Linked DNA regions of Homo sapiens: regions 2, 3, 4, 5, 6 and 7 are each linked to region 1. Evidence: promoter capture Hi-C in 16 types of primary human blood cells and fetal thymus (Javierre and others, 2016). All regions are on one chromosome and are shown on one strand. The core of a region is centred on a gene start or on the middle of the fragment in contact, and the rest is flanking DNA. Distances in the headings are between cores, read along the strand shown.

Region 1 (2,662 bases), core at 55-2,554:
CTGCACAATCTTAGGAATGCTCCTAGTCTGATGTCCCCATTGCAAAATTTACATTATCTTTTAACAAAACGTCTTTCCAAGGAGGGGCATTTAAAATAACTGAGGTTCTTCTTGCTAAGGACGTTCCTGACACAAGAGATAATTTAGCATTTCCTTTTCATTAAAAAGTTTGAAATCCTGTAATTTGTGATAATGTGGATGAACCTAGAGGATGTTAAGTGAAATAAGCCACACACAGATAGACAAATACCACGTGATCTCACTCTTATGTGGAATTTTTTTTTAAATAAGTTGCTTAGCCGGGCATGATGGCACACACCTGTAATCCTAGCTACTCAGGAGGCTGAGGTGGGAGGATGGCTTGAACTCAGAAGGTGGAGGTAGCAGTGAGCTGAGACTGTGCCAGTGCACTCCGGTCTGGGTGACAGAATGAAACCCAATTTAAAAAAAAAAAAAAAGTTGCTATCTTAGAAAAAGACAGTAGAGCAGTGGTTACCAGAGACTGGGGAGGAAAGAGAGGAGGTGAGAATGGGCAGCAGTTGATCAACGGGTACAAAGTTACCATGAGATAGGAGAAACAAGTGCTGGTGCTCTGCTCCAAGTAGGGTGACGGTAGTTAATAATGAATTCTGTATATATAAATAGCTAGAAGAGAGGGTTTTCAATATCATTATTATTTCAAAAGAAATGATAAATGTTTCAGAGGATGGATATGTAATTACCCTGATTTGATCATTGCACAATGTATACATGTAGCAAAACATCACATTGTGTCCCATAAATATATACAATTATTATGTGAATTAAATAAAAAAAAATTTTAAAGTCTTATCTAAATGAAATTTCTAACCAGATTCTGAATCCATGATACCACTGAAACCAGCACACATGATCGCAGTAAAACCTCATTATACTTCCTCCACTATCACCAATACCCTTTATTCTCTGGAACATGAAACATTCTGTTGTGCTCATATCATGCAAATTATCACTAGTAGGAGAGCAGAGAGTGGAAATGTTCCAGGTATAAAGACCCACAAGATAAAGAAGCTCAGAGTCGTTAGAAACAGGAGCAGATGTACAGGGTTTGCCTGACTCACACTCAAGGTTGCATAAGCAAGATTTCAAAATTAATCCTATTCTGGAGACCTCAACCCAATGTACAATGTTCCTGACTGGAAAAGAAGAACTATATTTTTCTGATTTTTTTTTTCAAATCTTTACCATTAGTTGCCCTGTATCTCCGCCTTCACTTTCTGCAGGAAACTTTATTTCCTACTTCTGCATGCCAAGTTTCTACCTCTAGATCTGTTTGGTTCAGTTGCTGAGAAGCCTGACATACCAGGACTGCCTGAGACAAGCCACAAGCTGGTGAGTTGTAGGCATTTTTTCCATTACTTTCTGATTCATAGGCTCAACGCACCTCAAAGCTGGAAATGCCGGGTCTGGGTACACCCTGGGGAACTGCAAAGCCTGCACACTTGGGGGGAATGATCAAGATGAGAGGCAGGGGTGGGGATGGCATGTGCACCAGGAGATGTTAGAGAAACCCTGAGGAAGAGCAGCGTGCAGCAGGTGATGGGGGAGAGTGGGCAGCAAGCGAGGCCAGGACAGCCACTCTGCTCAGTCACCAGTCCACACACCCAGGGGCTCACTCTGCCCCTCTGAGCACCCAAGGACGTTAAAGAGCTGGAACTGTTAGTCTAAATATAGGACCATCCAAGCTCTGAACCAAAATGTGTCCCTTGCCTCAACTCAGGAGATCCACAGAGGCAGAAGTAAGGAATTTATTTTCTGAAAGATAGATTTCTATCAGTTCTGGGTGACATGTTCTGACACTTGAAATGACACCTAGGACAGCACATTTCAGGCATCTTGCTCATTGTTCACTGTAGTAGAAGCTACATGCTAGCCAGTTGTAAAAATGAAATTAAGTAATGTGTGCACAGCATTTAACATAGCATCTGAGCTTCAGGAGCACTCAATTAATGACCACAGTTGTGATTCTTTAGGCAGATGCATTTTTTTCCAACTTTGATCAGAGGTCTTATTTAGCTTCTCCAGATTTCAAGAATCTGGCTCAGTGATATGAAATACAAGACTTGTGAAAAGTGTCAATTGCAAGAGAAATGGAAGGATAAAGTATACAGGTGGGTGGAAAAGAAATTCACAGTCACTGCCAGAAAAAAAATTCTTGAGAATCAAGTCCTGATGATGTTAGGGCTTATAGTTCTTATTATAAAGAGTTTTATGTACTCATTCAGTGAACATTTATTGGTGCCTCCTTTAGCCAGGTACTATCATAAGAGCTGAAAATAGAAGCATAATCCAGTCCTTGATCTTGAGGAACATGCTGTGTGTAGCAGATAACATAATAAGTGCTTATCTAGATGCATGCAGTGTTATGTGATAAGAGTAATATGACAGAGGATACAGATTAGGCTTCACAGAGAAGGGGGATTTGAGCAGGAGGTATTGAAGGGTGAATAGAAGCTCACCAATCATTTTGGGCAGAGGGGCAAGGACCTGCAAAACCACTGAAGCATGAAGGAAATGGTGAGTTTAGGGAAAATGAAGAGAAGATGGCTGTGACTGAAGCACAGGATTTGGGATTGGAGAAGGGACTGGAGGTGAGGCTGAAAAGAGGCAAACTCAGAAAAGA
Region 2 (2,662 bases), core at 114-2,613, 440 kb before region 1:
AGAGGATGTGTAGGTGAAACTTGTGTCAGGTTTGCTATGATAAAGTATCAGGAGTAATCCAATAAAACAACAAAAAAATGTAAATGGATCTCTTTTGGGTTCATTTGCAATTAAATGAAAGAAGTGATTCTAAGAACCTTGCTTGTATTCAATTCAGCTGTGTCCTGGTAACTGTTGCCACAAAATTTAGTGGTATAAAAACAATAACCATTTTATTTTATTCGCCATTTTGTGAGCCGGGAATTTGGAAGGGGCTCAGCAGGGCATATTTAGCTTGGGGTCTCTCATGTGGCTGCAGTTAGATATTGGCTGGGGCTGTGGCCACTGGAAAGCTTAACTGGAAAGCTTAACTACTGGCTTAGGGCCAGTAGTTGATGCTGGCTGCCATGCAGGGCCCCAGCACACGGCAGCTTCAGCAGGGAGGGCTCAAGGTACTCAGACCTTTTACATGGCAGCTGGCTTCCCCTGTGCAAGAGAACCAAGGGGAAGTTGCAGGTCCTTTTCTGACATGGCACCGGAAGCCACACAGTGTCCCTCTGCTCTTCCACTGGTCAGAGCAGCCAGAGGCCAGCCCGGAGTCAAGGGACTCGAGACTCCACCTCTTATTGGAAGGGTGTCAAATAACTCTAGGGCCATATTTTAAAATCACCAAAGGTGGCTACTCTGTAAATTAACTCATCTTTCAATGATCCCAATCACTCGGTCCCCCAACTTGACTAGCTGACTAATGCCCAGAAGTAATCAAAAGAGCCAAGAGAGTAAAAGGGATTGGACAAGGTGTGGATGTCTTTCTCAATGATAACAGCTATCACATTTTGAGGCACAGAGTAGCTAAGTGACTTGTCCCAAGCCAGAGGAAGTAGGTAGTGGCACTAGGAGTTGGATCCACGTCTTTCTGATTCTAGAACCCAATCTCTTAGAGGCTGTTGTACTTTCTCCCCAGTTGAAGTTCAAGCACTGATGTTCCAGTGGTCAGTTTGCACCATATGATCTGGATATAGCTCTTCTCACAAAGGCCCTGAGTCAGGAGGACAGGGGGCCCTAGCTGGGCCAGCCCCTAGGCAGGGGAAGAGGAACTCTGGCCATATTGTGGCTTCCTCCCAGGCCCTCCCCGCTCATGGCTTTATGCCGTTCAGCTTTGCTGGTAAGTAGGTCACCCCTTTGGTGAATGCAGAAAGACATCAACAACTGTGTAATGACTCCAGCATATAGGAATTGGGCATTTGGTTTTTTACTGGGAATTTGAGATGGCCGTAAGATGATGTGAATGTCTTTTTAGAAATTAGTTTTCGCATTTTAAAAGTTAAACTGGCACCTACTAAAAATACTTCAAACGACATAGAAAAGTATAAAGAGAAAAGTAAAAGCATCTTATTCCTGCCACCAACTCCAAAGCCCCACCAGCTCCATCTGCCAAGGCAGCCACTGCTGTGTCCAGCGTCTTTGTCAGGAAATGTCGCATGGGTGTGAATAGTGTTCGTCACATAGTCTCCCAGGGTGCCGTCATATACTGCTTCAATCCAACCCACTTTGAACAAATCCTTTCCTGTTTTTTGCTATCACAGACATTGTGGCCATGAAGATTGTTGCGTGTGTTTTTGCGTACTTGTATGAGTGTATCTGGAGGAGAAGGTGGGTGTTTTACTGAAGATGAAAATTGAGGTGGAAATATGTGCAAGAAGGGAAGATTATAGACTCTTTGGTAGAAATATTACAAAAATGGTCCCAATTCTCTACCCCTCACTGTCCCTGTGCCCTTTATAAAGTGACTTTGCAGTTCCTCCCATCCAGAGGAGTCCCTTTTCCCACACCTGGAATCTGGGCTGGCCTGTGACTTGCTCTGACCAACAGAACACTGTTGAAATGATGTGCCAGGTCTGAGACTGGGCTTTGCGAAGCTCGGGCACTTTTACTCACTCTCTTGGAAACCTGCTCAGTGGCCATCTGAATAAGCCCAGGCTATCCTGTTGGGGTCAGGGAGACCACATGGAGTACAGCCAAGTTGTCTGGCCAAGACCATCCTAGCCTAGCCAGCCTTTCTTTGACCAACTGACCACAGATGTAGGAGTCAACCCCAGCCACGATTAGCCAATGAGCAGCCAACCCTCAGACATGTGGGAGCACAGCCTCAATGCGTAGCTGACCACGGGCAGACAAGGGAGTGAGCCCACCAAGAGTCCAGAGCCCCCAGTCAACCTGCATATTCGTGAGCAAAATAAATCTTCAGTGATTTAAGCCACGGTTTTGAGGTTATCCAACTTCAAATAACGCAGAATAATGCAGCTTGGTCTGACAACAGGTAACTGATACAGCCTTTTGTATTAACAATCATAATAAAGGTCTGAAGGTCAAGGGCTGCCATAGCAAATCCTGGTTTATGGAAAAGCTTTTTATAAGTCATCAGATAATCTAAATTCAAGTAAAATGAGAATGGTTTAGAGAAAACCACTCCTACAGCTGTCTCAGCATAACGCAGTAGCAGTAATATGTTCTGTAAATGGTTCAGACTTACCATCTTCCCTGGGTCTTGGTTCCTCATCTGTAAAAGTGGGCTGACTTACAGCAAGAGCCTAGAAAATTATACAATTACACAAATTAAACAATGCTACTATTGTTACTATTAACAAACCAGTGCTGCAATGAGCTGATCTTTCTCTTGTTT
Region 3 (2,662 bases), core at 61-2,560, 420 kb before region 1:
GTGGAGAAAATGTATTACTATCCCCTTTAACACAGGGGAGGGAATTAACTTCAAAGAGGTTAGGTAACTTGCCCAACACTGCGCAGCAAGTGGTGGTGCTGAGCGTTCATCTGCCTCCAAAGCTGTGGAGATGAATGGACAGACTCCCCAAAGCTAATGAGAACGGTAAGAAATGATTAAAAAACCAGGATGCTTTAAAGAACAGCTCCAATACTCACCTTTGTGAGAATTCAATTCAATGCGATACTTCTCCATGTGTTAAATTTTATTTCTAATTAAGAACCCTCGACCAACATTTACAATTTTCAAGAATCTGAGGGCAGGTTTGGGGGGTCCATTCTGGAACAGACATCTTTCTTGTAATGTGGAAATCTTACCATATTACCATGTAAAAAGTCACTTACCCTGACATAATGCCCCATTAATACATTAATGCTGGAGCATTTTATAATTTTATGCTCCAGAATTCTCCCCTGGCACCCAGGTATTTGGATTGTGCCTCAATCATCTAGTCTAGACATCATCTAGACATCATCTATTCAGTGACAAGGACAATACTCAGCCTCTCCAAAGCAGATCTTAACAAAAACAAATCAAAGGTTTGCTCAAATATAATATAATCTTAAGATGCCTATTGTCTATAAGGCTCATGTCACAGATGTGAATTCCACTGAGTGACCTAAGAAATTTCAGTTTACATGAGTCAAGGGGTACCAACACATTTGCAGTGTTCTGAGATAATCCCAACCTTTAACATGTTTTCAGATGCTCTCATGATGTTGTTGCTAATCCTTAGCTTGCTGTCACTCTCTTTGAAAGAGGCAGAAAAAAATAACTTTCAAGGTGTTGTCATTCTCCTTGCATTTTATTCCCATGTCCAGCCGACCTATTCTCCATACTGTCTTATTCTCCTCAAAGACCTGCCTTGGATCTGTGTGGTCTAGTTATTTCTAAATCTCATAACTTTCCTCATTCCTTTACTTGAGGGTAGGTTTTTTACCAGTTTTATTATAAATGATTTCAAACATTTCCCTGTTCTTTCCCATTAAATGCCACTAAAAAAACTGAAAATGATTCAGCAGTTGTAGTAAAAGTGAAGGGCAGGAGAAGGAAGGCGGACTGATTAAGGACCCCCAGAATATGAGGAAAATCACAACAGCTTAGCGTCTCTGAGCCCCCCACCTACACATAATAAAAAACCACTCGTTATCCTAAGAGCCAGGAAAATCACAGTGTGCATGAGGAAAGACAATCAACAGAAGCCGACACTGACATCAACCAGATGCTGGAGTTATCTGTCAAGGCTTTTAAAGCAGCCATCAAAAAAAATGCTTCAGTAACAATTTTAAATGTTCTTGAAACAATAAAACAGTGGAAAACTCATACCAAAGAAACAGAAGATATAAAAAAGTACCAAATGGAAATTTTAGAACTAAATAATTACAATAACCAAAATAAAAAAAAAATCACTGGACACTCAATAGCTGAATAAAGATGACAGTTATACTTGAAGAGAGAAAAACAGAAATTCCTCAATCTGAACAACACAGGGAAAAGAGAATTGGGGGACAGGGTGCAAGGAAAAAGAACAGAGCCTGAGGAATCTACAAGGCAAGGACAAAAGATCTCACATTTGTATCACTGGAGTCCCAAATGGAGAGGGAAAATAGAGTGCATCTGAAAAAATGTTCAAAGAAATGATGGTTATAAACTTCCCAAATATGATGACAGATAAGCCTAGAGATTTAAGAGCTGAGTGTACCCCAAATAGGAAAAACCCAAAGAAATTCATGCCAAGACCCATCATAATTAAACGTCTAAGAACAAAAGACAAAGAAAAAACTTGAAAGCAGGCAGAGAGGAATAACTTATTATCTATGGGGGAATACCAATTTGAATGCCAGGGGATTTCTCATCTAAAACCATGGAGGCCAGAGGGAAGTAGCAGCACACATATTTCAAATGCTGAAAGAAAAGAACTTTCAATTCTATATCTGGCAAACATCCTTTAGATATTCTGTCAAATCCAGCAGTGTGTGAAAAGAATTATATACCACAGCCAGTGGGATTTATCCCAGGTATGCAAGGCTGGTTTGATATATGAAAGTCAATCAATGCAATCCATCATATCAACAGGCTAAGGAAGAAAAAGCCTATGATCTTATCAATTGATGTAGAAAAAAGATCTGGCAAAATTCAACAGCCATTCACGACCACCCAAGTTCTCTGTTACTATTTCTAATTGTCACTGCTGTGAGTAGCATGCAAGGGACATTTTGGTAGCTTTATCTTTGCACCTCCAGTCATTATTTCCTCAGGATAAATTCCCAGACACAGGCCCATTGCATCAAAGAGAAAATGCAATTCTTGAACTTTTGGTACATTCTGCAGCCAAGTTGCTCTCCAGAAAGGGTGGCCCTGACACTTCATACTCCCCCAGCATCAACAGCTTGTGAGTGGGCTAGCTATTTAATTCTTCCTGCTTGGTCTGCCCCATAATTCAATATAGTGTTTGTCCAAGTGTGGTCCAAGGTCACCTGAGGACTGGTGGAATAGATTATTCTCTCACGACCACATCTAAACCTTCAGGAAATTCTGTCTGCACCACCTTCAAAATAGGTCCAGAATTTGCCCTGGTCTCTGCCCTCTCTGCCAACACTTG
Region 4 (2,662 bases), core at 163-2,662, 400 kb before region 1:
GATGCGTGGGAAAGAACCTCCCAGTGCTCAAGGGCTTGCAGCAGGCACTGGGTTTCCAACCAGGGGCCTTGTGTCCGACTGTGCAAACCACTTAGTAGGAAGGCCACTGTAGAAATGTTCCTGTACCAGTCATCTGCCCACAAACACTCTCCAGCATATGTCACGGAAAAATGTGAGAGCAGGTTTGAGGCAAAAATGAAAAAAACACTGGGTGCTGTGGCTCATGCCTATAATCCCAGCACTTTGGGAAGCCGGGGTGGGTGGATCACTTGAGGCCAGGAGTTCAGTACCAGCCTGGCCAACTTGATGAAACCCTGTGTCTAATAAAAATATAAAAATTAGCCAGGTGTGGTGGCGGGCACCTGTAATCCCAGCTACTCAGGAAGCTGAGGCACGAGAATCACATGAACCCAGGAGGCAGAGGTTGCAGTGAGCCGAGATCGTACCACTGCACTCCAGCCTGAGAAACAGAGCAAGACTTAGTCTCAAAAATAAATAAATAAATAAATAAATAAATAAATAAATAAATAAATGAGTAGACAGGAAATGTCAAAAATCAAAACAAGTGACCGCAGCACTCTGTGGTCACTAATGAGTCAGGGCAAGCCCATGCAAAGTTCCTGGGGTGTTTAGCAAGAAAAATGGTTCAGGTGAGCTTAAAGTTCCCACCTGGACCTGCCACATGACCACTAAGGCAGGCCCTGCTTTAGAAGTGAAGTTCTTCTTCTTGTTTCAAGTCTGTGTAATAGAGAGCTTGAGGCATAGGCTGAAAAAAGGGGCCAGGGATTGTTTTTTTTTCCATCAATTCAGCCACACTCCTGAACCTGCCTTGTAAGGCTGGCAGAGGGAAGGGAAAGCAGACAGCAGGGATCTAAAATGATGTCCACTGAGAGAAACCAAAGACTTAAATAAATAGAAAGTTGTATCATGTTCATGGACTGAGTCAATTTTATTAAGATGTCAATTCTCCCCAAACTGAACTAGAGATTCAATGCAATCTCAATTTAAATATCACCAGGATTTTTTGTAGAAATTGACAAACTGATTCTAAAACTTATATAGAAAAACAAAAAACCTAGAATAGCCAATACTTTGATAAAGAACAAAACTGGAGTCACTCTACGTGATGTTAAGATGCTTTATAAAACTATGGTCATCATAACAGTTTGGTATTAGTGAAAGAATAGGCACATAGATAAATGGAATAGAATAAAAGTCCAGATATAAATCCACACATATAAGGTCAATTGCCTACTTTCTCATGGCAGCATAAAAAAAAATAAGGTCGGTTTTTGACAAAGGTGCAAGGAACAGTCTTTCAATCAATGGTGTTGAAATAACTGGACAGCCATACAAAAAGATGAATCTCTATTCATACCTTGCACCATACACAAAGATAACTGAAAATGCATCATAGGCCTAAATGTATAAGCTAAAGCTGTAAAACTTCTAAGCGACAACAGAAGAAGGTCTGTGAGTCCTTGGGCTAAGTAAAGCCAGACATGACAACAAAAAGAAAAACATTTATGCATAACAGAAAAAACCTGATACATTGGACCTCATTAAAATGATAAACTTCTGCTCTTTGAAGACTTTTTTGCTCTTTGAAAGAAAATATAAAGATAAGCTATAGATTGGGAAAAAATACTTGTAAAATACATATGTGACAAAGAACTTGCATAGAGAATATACAGAGGACTCTCAACATTCAATACTTAAAAAACATTTTAAAATGGGCAAAAGATTTGAAGAAGATAAACTAAAGCTGTGCAAAGTACACTCCCCATCCTTGTCAGTTCTTTGTACCCAACAACATAATGGGGCCTGCCAACCACTTGGTAATCCACTCAAACAAAAGAGGAATGGACAGTATTTCTAAAGGCTGGCTGGCCTGCATCCAGGCAGAGGCCAAGGAGGAGTTCACAGGGACCAGCTGCAGATGGCAATGATGCTCGAGCAGAGACGAGCTGAGACCACTTCTGCCTGTGCCGTCTCAGCTCTGCCTCCCTGTGTTCCACATTCAAAGTCCAGTGCCCGGAAGGGCAGCCCAGGCCTGTCTGCTAGGGTGTGCTCAAAACCGAAGCAGCAGAACCCAAACTCTACTTCCTTCACTGGGCTGAGTGGGAGGACACAAAGGAGATTACATCCTCCTTGGACATGAAGGAAGAGCGAGCTTCAGGAAGAGACTGAAGGATATGGATGGTTCCAGACACAACTCCTAGCCTTGAGTTACTCTGGATGCCAAGGCTGCAGCTCTGGTAGACGGCATTCTCCAAAGCATGGGGTGTATTTCATGAATGTGCATTAACAGGTACATAGACTTCAGGTTAAATCACACTGAATCTTATCAGGGCAAAGTTATTCCTTTTTCAATTCTCTTTCAATCCTAATATATCAAAATGAAAGTCTCAAGTTGGTGGTAATATATTTTAGCACCTCTTTAATACCTAAGTTTAGAAAACACTGAATTCAGCTTATTAGCACTAACTAGCCACAACATCGGTAGGGGAGGAAGTGGCACCTAGAGAACATAGTAGGCAGTAGTAGCAGGAGACTGACCTTGGCCTCCTGTGGCCTGGGGCCCAGGTGAGGCTGGTGACAGTGCAGGGCTGGGCTCTCCCTGGCTAGTGCCTGAGCCACTGCTATCAGGGGAGCCAGGGCC
Region 5 (2,662 bases), core at 52-2,551, 360 kb before region 1:
ATGCTTTCAGAACAGTGGTTGTCACAGAAGGGAGGGTCAAGTGGAGCTCACTCAACAGGGGTCCACTTCAGAAGGTGGGAACTACTGAAAGCAGAAAACCTTGGCATGATAGCTCCAGCTCCCCACCCCTCCCCCACACCAGCCCCCAACACCCTCCAGCCGCATTAGGCAGATGGCAGGGGAATTAAGCTTGCAGCCTGAGACCACAAGGCCTGCACGGGCAGGAGAACCAGTGAGCAGATTAAGCCCTGGATCCTCTGCCCCGCAAAAGCCCCTGACCCATTTCTCTGTCGGGAAAGGAAACTGCTGTGGTAAGACAAGCAGAGGGGCTGAGAGGCTCTGGCCAACACAGGCAGTTTCAACAAGTGTTCTATTTTTTTTTCTGGAGAGGACACCCAATGGGAACAGTGAAGAGTGACAGGGACATCAGAGAATACATGTGCTTTAACAGGGGGCCACGCGGTTAACGTGTCAACCACATGTGCTTTTCTTACAAAAAATAAAATCCCGCCATCCTCCCCCCTCCCCGCCCCACCCCCGCCAGGTTTCAACAGCACGGACTCCAGTCCAGTGCAGTGCCGCCACACCAGAGACAACAGGTGTTTCGGGAAAAGACCCCTGGGGGCTAGCTCGAGACCCTGCGCATGGGCACAAGGGGCAGTGGATAGTGAATAGGTCTTGGCCAAAGGATGGGCCAGGAAGAAAGAAGCTTCTTCCCCTCCTGGGAAGAGGGCAGAGATCCGAGCACCAGCGGAGTCTTGCAAAGTGAAGGTCTGGGCTGTCCCGGCCCAACTGGGCCAGAGACTAAACTTCCTAAAGACCACGCAGGCAGGAACTCCGGGGCCTGCCCCATCCTGCGCTAAGACATTCAGGCTTGTTCTGAGACGCCGCATGGTGGGCTCCTTTCCTTTGCGGGCCCTCCGCCCTCCGGGGTCTTGGAACTGGTGTTTGGGGTCTGTCTTTCTAACCGACCAACAGAGGCAGGCTGGGTGCCTGGGCCGGCTTCCACCTGCCCGAGGTGCTTCCCGGCCCGCTGGGCAAGGACGGGGGCGCTCGGGCAGGGTCTGAGGGAGACCTGGGATGGGCGGGGACTGTAAGGGCAACAGGTGACAAGCCGCGCCCCGAGCGAAGCTCTCGCCTCAGGGATCGTGAGCGACCCAGGTGCCCCCAGAGTCCAGCCGGTCTTCCGCGGCACTTACGCGCTCGTGGGTCCACCGCCGGGCAGAACCGAAACTTTCTGGGGCCAAGCGGAAGAGGACGGGAACGCGGTGCTGACGGCCATGACGCGCACACCAAGAGGGTGGCGGGGGCGGACTACAACTCCCGGCGTGCTCCCCGGGGCTGAGGCCTGCAACTCCCATCGGACTCCCGGGGCTCCGACTACAACTCCCGGCGACTCCGCAGGGCGGGGTTTAAGTGCTCCCACCGCCCAGTCCCCGGACCGACTGTCCCACCCGCGACCCATGCTGGCCCCAGGTTAACGCCTGCAACCCCGGAGGGCCACAAATCAAAGGTCTGGCATCTTGACAACAACGCTGTTCTTGTGTGGCTAAGGAGCACTCCAAAGGTAGCTAGTTCGAGTTGAATCGTGCACGTGCTGTAAGTGTGAAATACACCTAGGTACCAAAGAGTCCGAAGAATGTTAACTAGCTCATTAATTTTTAGTGATTGCATGTTAAAATGATAATATTTTGATATATTGGGAAATAGAAAAACATGTATTGGTGGGCCTAATTTCCCATCTTTTAATCCCCCTTATTTCTTAATATCAGGGTCTTACTTAAAATTAGTGCTCAAAAACTACGTGTTTATGAACTACCACCCCTAACTTTGGCCCCATCCTCAGCCCAACTTCTATTTATAAGATGGGTGTTGCAAAGCACTGTGGAACTGAATACGATAGAACAAAATGCATTCAATCAGTGTCCGCTATGGGCACAGTAGAAAAGAGGAACACTACACGGGGACTTTGGCTTCTAACTGACTGCATTCCTTAGCTGTGGCTGGCTATCCTTTACTCTCTGCCCTAGTTCTCATCATTTAAGCCAGAAACAGCTCTCTCCCTTGTAGGACCTAGCTCGTGGTATCCAGTCAGGAACCGTGGTGGCCCAACATTCTAAACTGAGGAAGCAGGGTGTTGTCTGGGTACAATAATACAGAAAGAAAATCAATTTCTTAGTCGATTTTAGGCTATGACATCTCATTAGCCATCTAATTTTATAAATTAGATGTAGCTAAAACAGTGAGTTGGATGGATGGAGTAGTCAGTTTGGGGGTGGGGTTGGGAGGAGGTACATGAATAGAAGTGATTTCCACTCTTGTTAACAGAAAGGAGAACAGAAAGAAAACGGGGGGAGTGAGAAGATGACAAAGAGAAAAGTAATCAATGTAGTGGTCTAAGAGAAATCATTGCTCCAACCACTGTCTGAACAGCTTCATGCAATATTAAGGATGAGAGAGATTTTAATGTTGGTCATCTGGTCCAATATCCTTGTTTGAAACTGTGTGGGGAAAAAAAAACCTCCCTCAAACCGTATTTTTCCTCTACTCTTACACAACAGCAATCATCAACACAGGAGAATAATTTGGTGACCAGATGTGTGTGGGGTTTTCCCCACACACTGAGCAGTGGACCGCACCTGGGTGTCCTCCAATTCAATTC
Region 6 (2,662 bases), core at 65-2,564, 340 kb before region 1:
ACCTTTCCACTACTGAAGCCTCCAAATTCTCAACACAAACTTAAGTATTTCCTTGGCCAAGACAGTGTAACAAAGTCTTTTTTTTTCTGAGTGGAAAAATAAATTGCTCTTAATTTCTTTTTTCTTTCCTTTTTTTTGGTGGGGGGAGGGGGATGGAGTCTTGCTCTGTCACCCGGGCTGGAGTGCAGTGGTGTGACTTAGTTCACTGCAACCTCTGCTTCCCAGGTTCAAGTGATTCTCCTGCCTCAGCCTCCCGAGTAACTGGGATTACAGGTGCCCGCCACCACGCCCAGCTCATTTTTGTATTTTTAGTAGAGATGGGGTTTCACCATGTTGGCCTGGCTGGTCTTGAACTCTTGACCCGTGATCCACCTGCCTCAGCTTCCCAAAGTGCTGGGATTACAGGTGTGAGCCACCGCACCCGGCCCAAGTTCTTTTATTTTCAAACTGGCTCTTGACACTCAGAATAAAGGAAATCAACTCCATCTAAGACATGAGAAGAAATTGAAAAACCTCTTTGGAAAAACTCAGCTTTGCTACCAAGAAATAACCTTTAAGTAAATGGCTGGTAGGAAGGAAATTCTCAATAGTACTATTGTAGAAAATTGAGCCCGCCATTTTCCAAGTGCTTCACTGTCTCTTGAGTAGTTCTGTTGATGTGGGCAGGGAGCAGTACTGCTGATGGGAGCAATTTGGGGTGGGGTTTGATCGTATCACTTGTCAAAGGCTTATCCTAAAATGTTTTTGGTGTGCCCAGTGGTGTCACACCTCTGACCTCCTATCTTAGTGGCTTAGACTGTAAGCCACTGGCTTTCTCTACTGGCAGAGCAGTAGAAAACCTCAGTAACCTTTTTCACACTTGTGGTGGCCATTAGCTGATCCTGTGGCTGAACTCTCCCTGCTTGGGGGGATTCCTCACCACGAGTCTTGGTGGGAGGCAGAGCCCACTTCTGTAGGAGATAAGGAAGCCTGGGCGCTCTTTCCCAGCTCCCTTGAGGCCAGAGTGTGGGTGTGTGGCCTTGGCTCACTCTGTGAGCCTCGTGTACCTGTTTTTTGTAATGCAGGTGGGAGAAGTCTTTCTAGAGTCACTGTAACCTCTGGCTCCTGCGGTTGTTGTGCCAGAGACCACCTCCCTTTGTTCTAGCTGTTTCTCCTGCCTTCCCACCAGTTTTGTGAGCTACCCAGCAGCTTTTCTCTTTCTTTGAGTATAACCTCTTCTATATGTCATTTCTCTCCAATTTTAATGTATAATTACACACATTTTTCTTTTTTTAATTTTTTGCCGAATCATTTGTGATGTAGTTGCAGACATCATGACACTGTACCCTGCCGCATCTCTGATGCAATTACAATGAAATCACATGCAGTATCTTTTCCACACATTTTCTTCTGCCGTGGCAACTAGAGGCAATTTCTGTTGCTTATGGTTAAGAGTCCTGATGGGCATATCATTTGGGAAATTGGCAAGATGTGATGGAAAGAGTAGGTGTTTGGGTACAATACAGACCTGAGTTTGGCTTTAACTTAAGAAAGTCATTTATCTCTCCAAGCCCCCCTTTTCTCATCTGGGTAGTGACAATGCCTACCTTGTAAAATTGTGAGAATGTGGCATAATGTGTGCAAGGGATATAGCACAGTTTCTAGCACCCAGTAGTTGCTCAATAAATATTCATTGAGTGAATGATTGAATAAATAAAGACACTAGATCAGTGATTGTCAAACATGGCTGTACATTAGAACCACCAGGAGACTTTAAAAACATCCTGAGGCCAGGTTGCACCCTAGAACAATTGCATCAGAACCTTTGGGGTAGAAACTCAGACATTAGTGTTTTTTTTGTTTGCTTGTTTTTGTTTTTTGAGACAGAGTCTTGCTCTGTTGCCAGGCTGTAGTGCAGTGGCGCAATCTCAGCTCATTGCAACCTCCGCCTCAGCCTCCCGAGTAGCTGGGACTACAGGCGTGCACCACCACGCCCAATTAATTTTTGTATTTTTAGTAGAGACGGGGTTTCACCATGTTGACCAGGATGGTCTCGATCTCTTGACTTCATGATCTACCTGCCTCGGCCTCCCAAAGTGCTGGGATTACAGGCATGAGCCACTGCGCCCGGCCAACATTAGTATTTTTTAAGCTCCGCGTGTGATCTGACATGTAGCCTTGGATGTTGGAGTGTGACCTATTCTGGTCCCTTGTATCCTCCTTAGTCAAACTGGAGAAAACAGAAACCTCGTAAGGTAGCTGTGAGACGTGAAAATGTATGGACCTAATACATAGTAGGTCTCAGTAAACACTAGCTTCCAATCTCCTCTGCATGTCTTCAGTTAGGTGTAGCCTTCTGTGTAGGTGCAGGAGACACTGGAACATCATGGAAGGTTTGGAGGTGCACTGGGATTCCGCTCCCACACACTGAAATTTGTGTCCTGTATTAATTTGCTCCGGCTGCCATTAACCAAGTTCCATGACTGGGTGGCTCGAACGAGAGAAATATACTGTCTCACAGTTCTGGAGACTGGAAGTCTGAGATCTAGGTGTCAGGTTCATTCCTTCTGGGGCTGTAAGGGAGAATCTGCTCCATGCCTTTCTCCTTGCTTCTGGTCGCTTGCTGGCAGTCTTTGGTGTTTTTTGGCTTGTGGCAGCATAACTCTAGTCTTCACATGACATT
Region 7 (2,662 bases), core at 75-2,574, 270 kb before region 1:
AGGATGTCGAATAAAAGATTCCTTCTCACCCAGTGGGAAGGGACCATATCAGGTACTATTGGCCAATCCCTGTGCCACTAAACTTAAAGGCATTGATGCATAGATTCATATTTCTCATTTTAAAAAGACAACCCTACCTGAGGGGACGTCTTTCATCATGGGAGATCTTAGTGGAATTGACTTGCAGTCTTCCTGACCAGAATGGAAAGTAGCTGACATTTGTGGTCACCTGTTTTCACCCAAGATACCAGACCAAGCCTGTATAACTTGTTCTTCATGATTCTAATGCCTACCACACCTGAAATATTTGCTCTCCTTTTTCTATTGACTGGAATACTTATGGCGTTAGGCCTCCATACTGTGAGTATCCTCTCTTGGATAAAATTGTTTTGGTAAAATCATCATATATATATTTATATGTGCATATATACATGCATACACACACACACACACACACATATATTCTCTTAGGATATATGTAAACAAATGCCTATAATCAGGCTCCTTTTTTTTTTTTTTTTTTTTTTCCTTTTTTTAGAGATGGGGTTTTGCTCTGTTGCCCATGCTGGAATGTAGTAACATGATCATAACTCACTGCGGCCTCCAACTCCTGGGCTCAAGCAATCCTCCCGACTCAGCTTCCCGAGTAGCTGGGGCAACAGAAGTGCACCACCACACCCAGCTAATTAAAAAAAAAATTGTAGAGAAGGGTCTTGCTATGTTGACCACACTGGTCTCAAACTCCTGGCCTTAAGTAATTCTCCCACCTCGGCCTCTCAAAGTGCTGGGATTACAGGCATTAGCCACTGCACCTGGCCTAGGTTTCTGTTTTTGCCGTCCCTGATAAATTTGACTGTAGCATGGAGGGATAATTCTCTGATCAGAATCCCACACACCATTGCCACTGCTGGAAATCTGAAGAGATGCTGGGTTTGCTACCCTAAACCAAAAACTACTTTTGACCACAATGACCCACTGGTACATTCTGCCCTAAATTTCACCAGTGTTCATGATAGCACTTGTAACACAACTCAGGGCCACATAAAAGCAAACCTGTTAATCAGGTCTGCCTGACTCATCCTAACCTGTTTGTCCTATGTTTCAATGTAACTCATCAGAATTCTTTTGTCAAAAATCACTGCTGCGTTACTCACTAATGACAGTACTAAAATCCATGATGTTGTTAGAAAATCCAAAGAAAACAGCCCCTCCAGCTATCAGGATCCTGTCTTCTTGCTTTAACATTTCTGACCCATTGATCCAGTAATGCCTCAAAACTGATGTTCTTAAATTATAGTGTACTTATCTGTGCTCCACCAGGATTTATTATAGTCTGTGGAGAAAATCACCAGCCATGGTCCTGTAAGTGTCTAAGAGCATGGAATGTTGAAGGGCAATATGTCTTAGGATATTTCGTTACCCTTCTCTCTATATACAGCTCTGAAGAAACTCAGCACTGGACTAGTTCCCTCAAACTTTTCTCTAGGCATGACTGCAGATCTACCTTAGATGGAGATTCTATTTAGAGAAAATGTGCTAATTATCTGGCTGGCCATCAAGAAGATAGCTCCATGCATTTTTTTTTCTTTGAGAATACTTTTGCCTTTGTTGGATGTAACTTCCCATGAACACATGATCTAAAATCCTTCTAAAACCCTAGGAAACATTGCTGATGAAACTGCTGTCTCCATCACAGCTCAACAAAAAGCTACAGATTTACTGACTAAGGTTGTGCTAGACAATCACATTGCTTTAGATTCTATATTAGCTGAGCAAGGAGGTGGATATGTGGTGGCAAATACCTCTTGTTGTATATACATAAGTATTTCCCATGAAGTAGAAACTCACCTAGGAAAAATCAGGGAAGAAGCTGCTTGACTACAGGTCTCTAAAGAAAAACTGAGATTTAATTTTCTTCAGGAGGTTTTTAGTTGACTCTTAACAGACTAGATTCCTTTTTCATTCTGGCATAAAAATTCTCTTTTTGGTTCTAATCCTATGTGCATTATATATTTCTATTATTCCAATTAATGCTAGATATCTTTCATTGTTTTATTTCTTCTGAGAAAATGAAAATCATGGTATTCCAGAGACTGGCGATGATGGAGCAAACAACAGCAGCTATGTAAGTCAATACTTTGTGGACTCACTTTTGCCATTCTGTATTGTCATCCTGATTCAGCTTTTTGGTGCTCTTAAAATTCCTCACTGAGATGTCTCCACTCCCCCATGTGGGACAGGGCTACCCAGGAATGAGCCTTCCTGGTGACAAGGGACAAGCTGGCACTCAGATTTGTATCATCAGTGCTTTTGAGGAGAAAAATTTGTGATCAAAAGGAAGGAAATGAGAGCAAAAGGAAACTTTTAATCATAGGAATGTGAGCCCTTTTAAATTATCAGTCCCAGAAAAGCATTGGAATGAAAAGCTATCACATCTCATGCCTCCCTTGAGCTAAGTAATTACCTCTTGAAGCCACTTGCTATGTGGACTCTAGACTAACTGATGCCAAGTAGCTATAAAATGCCATGCACTGGACGCCATAACTCATATCCTCCAGCTCAACAATGTAAAGCCAATCCCTAATCAATGTAATTTCTATAAACCAATGAGAATTCCTGCCAACTTTTTATCAGCTCACTCCTTGCTTTCTTTTTGTCTTTA

The links. The method cuts DNA at HindIII sites, captures the fragments that hold promoters and counts their contacts. A CHiCAGO score of 5 or more calls a contact.
Region 2: a contact is called between a fragment that was not itself captured here and the fragment with the promoter of CCR2 in region 1, in 2 of 17 cell types (neutrophils and naive B cells). The highest score is 6.1, in neutrophils.
Region 3: a contact is called between a fragment that was not itself captured here and the fragment with the promoter of CCR2 in region 1, in 10 of 17 cell types (neutrophils, M1 macrophages, naive B cells and 7 more). The highest score is 10.2, in neutrophils.
Region 4: a fragment that was not itself captured here is called in contact with the fragment with the promoter of CCR2 in region 1 in 1 of 17 cell types (neutrophils); the score reaches 5.2 in neutrophils.
Region 5: a contact is called between the fragment with the promoter of FYCO1 here and the fragment with the promoter of CCR2 in region 1, in 7 of 17 cell types (monocytes, neutrophils, naive B cells and 4 more). The highest score is 13.8, in monocytes.
Region 6: a contact is called between a fragment that was not itself captured here and the fragment with the promoter of CCR2 in region 1, in 1 of 17 cell types (monocytes). The highest score is 5.2, in monocytes.
Region 7: a contact is called between a fragment that was not itself captured here and the fragment with the promoter of CCR2 in region 1, in 6 of 17 cell types (M0 macrophages, M2 macrophages, monocytes and 3 more). The highest score is 11.2, in M0 macrophages.

The regions. Positions count from the first base shown.
Region 1 is chr3:46,352,807-46,355,468 of GRCh38, forward strand. It overlaps CCR2 (C-C motif chemokine receptor 2), which reads left to right and starts at 1,305. Exons shown (of 2, transcript NM_001123396.4): 1 at 1,305-1,371. The HindIII fragment of the contact is 10,451 bases long and covers 1-2,662 here.
Region 2 is chr3:45,910,608-45,913,269 of GRCh38, forward strand. It overlaps a transcript of LZTFL1 not described here. Among named protein-coding and RNA genes, the nearest start is that of CCR9, 25 kb to the left of the region's middle. The HindIII fragment of the contact is 2,041 bases long and covers 344-2,384 here.
Region 3 is chr3:45,932,538-45,935,199 of GRCh38, forward strand. The region is part of intron 15 of FYCO1 (FYVE and coiled-coil domain autophagy adaptor 1); the gene reads right to left. Among named protein-coding and RNA genes, the nearest start is that of CXCR6, 9.6 kb to the right of the region's middle. The HindIII fragment of the contact is 3,840 bases long and covers 1-2,662 here.
Region 4 is chr3:45,955,849-45,958,510 of GRCh38, forward strand. It overlaps FYCO1 (FYVE and coiled-coil domain autophagy adaptor 1), which reads right to left. Exons shown (of 18, transcript NM_024513.4): 13 at 2,560-2,662. Among named protein-coding and RNA genes, the nearest start is that of CXCR6, 14 kb to the left of the region's middle. The HindIII fragment of the contact is 6,291 bases long and covers 1-2,662 here.
Region 5 is chr3:45,994,523-45,997,184 of GRCh38, forward strand. FYCO1 (FYVE and coiled-coil domain autophagy adaptor 1) reads right to left here and starts at 1,302. Exons shown (of 18, transcript NM_024513.4): 1 at 1,200-1,302. It overlaps LOC105377063 (a long non-coding RNA gene), which reads left to right and starts at 1,381. Exons shown (of 3, transcript XR_940799.3): 1 at 1,381-1,567. RefSeq lists enhancers at 1,101-1,600, 1,101-1,150, 1,171-1,330. The HindIII fragment of the contact is 2,332 bases long and covers 708-2,662 here.
Region 6 is chr3:46,012,574-46,015,235 of GRCh38, forward strand. No RefSeq gene overlaps it. Among named protein-coding and RNA genes, the nearest start is that of XCR1, 14 kb to the right of the region's middle. The HindIII fragment of the contact is 3,415 bases long and covers 1-2,662 here.
Region 7 is chr3:46,081,972-46,084,633 of GRCh38, forward strand. It overlaps a transcript of XCR1 not described here. Among named protein-coding and RNA genes, the nearest start is that of XCR1, 56 kb to the left of the region's middle. The HindIII fragment of the contact is 8,313 bases long and covers 1-2,662 here.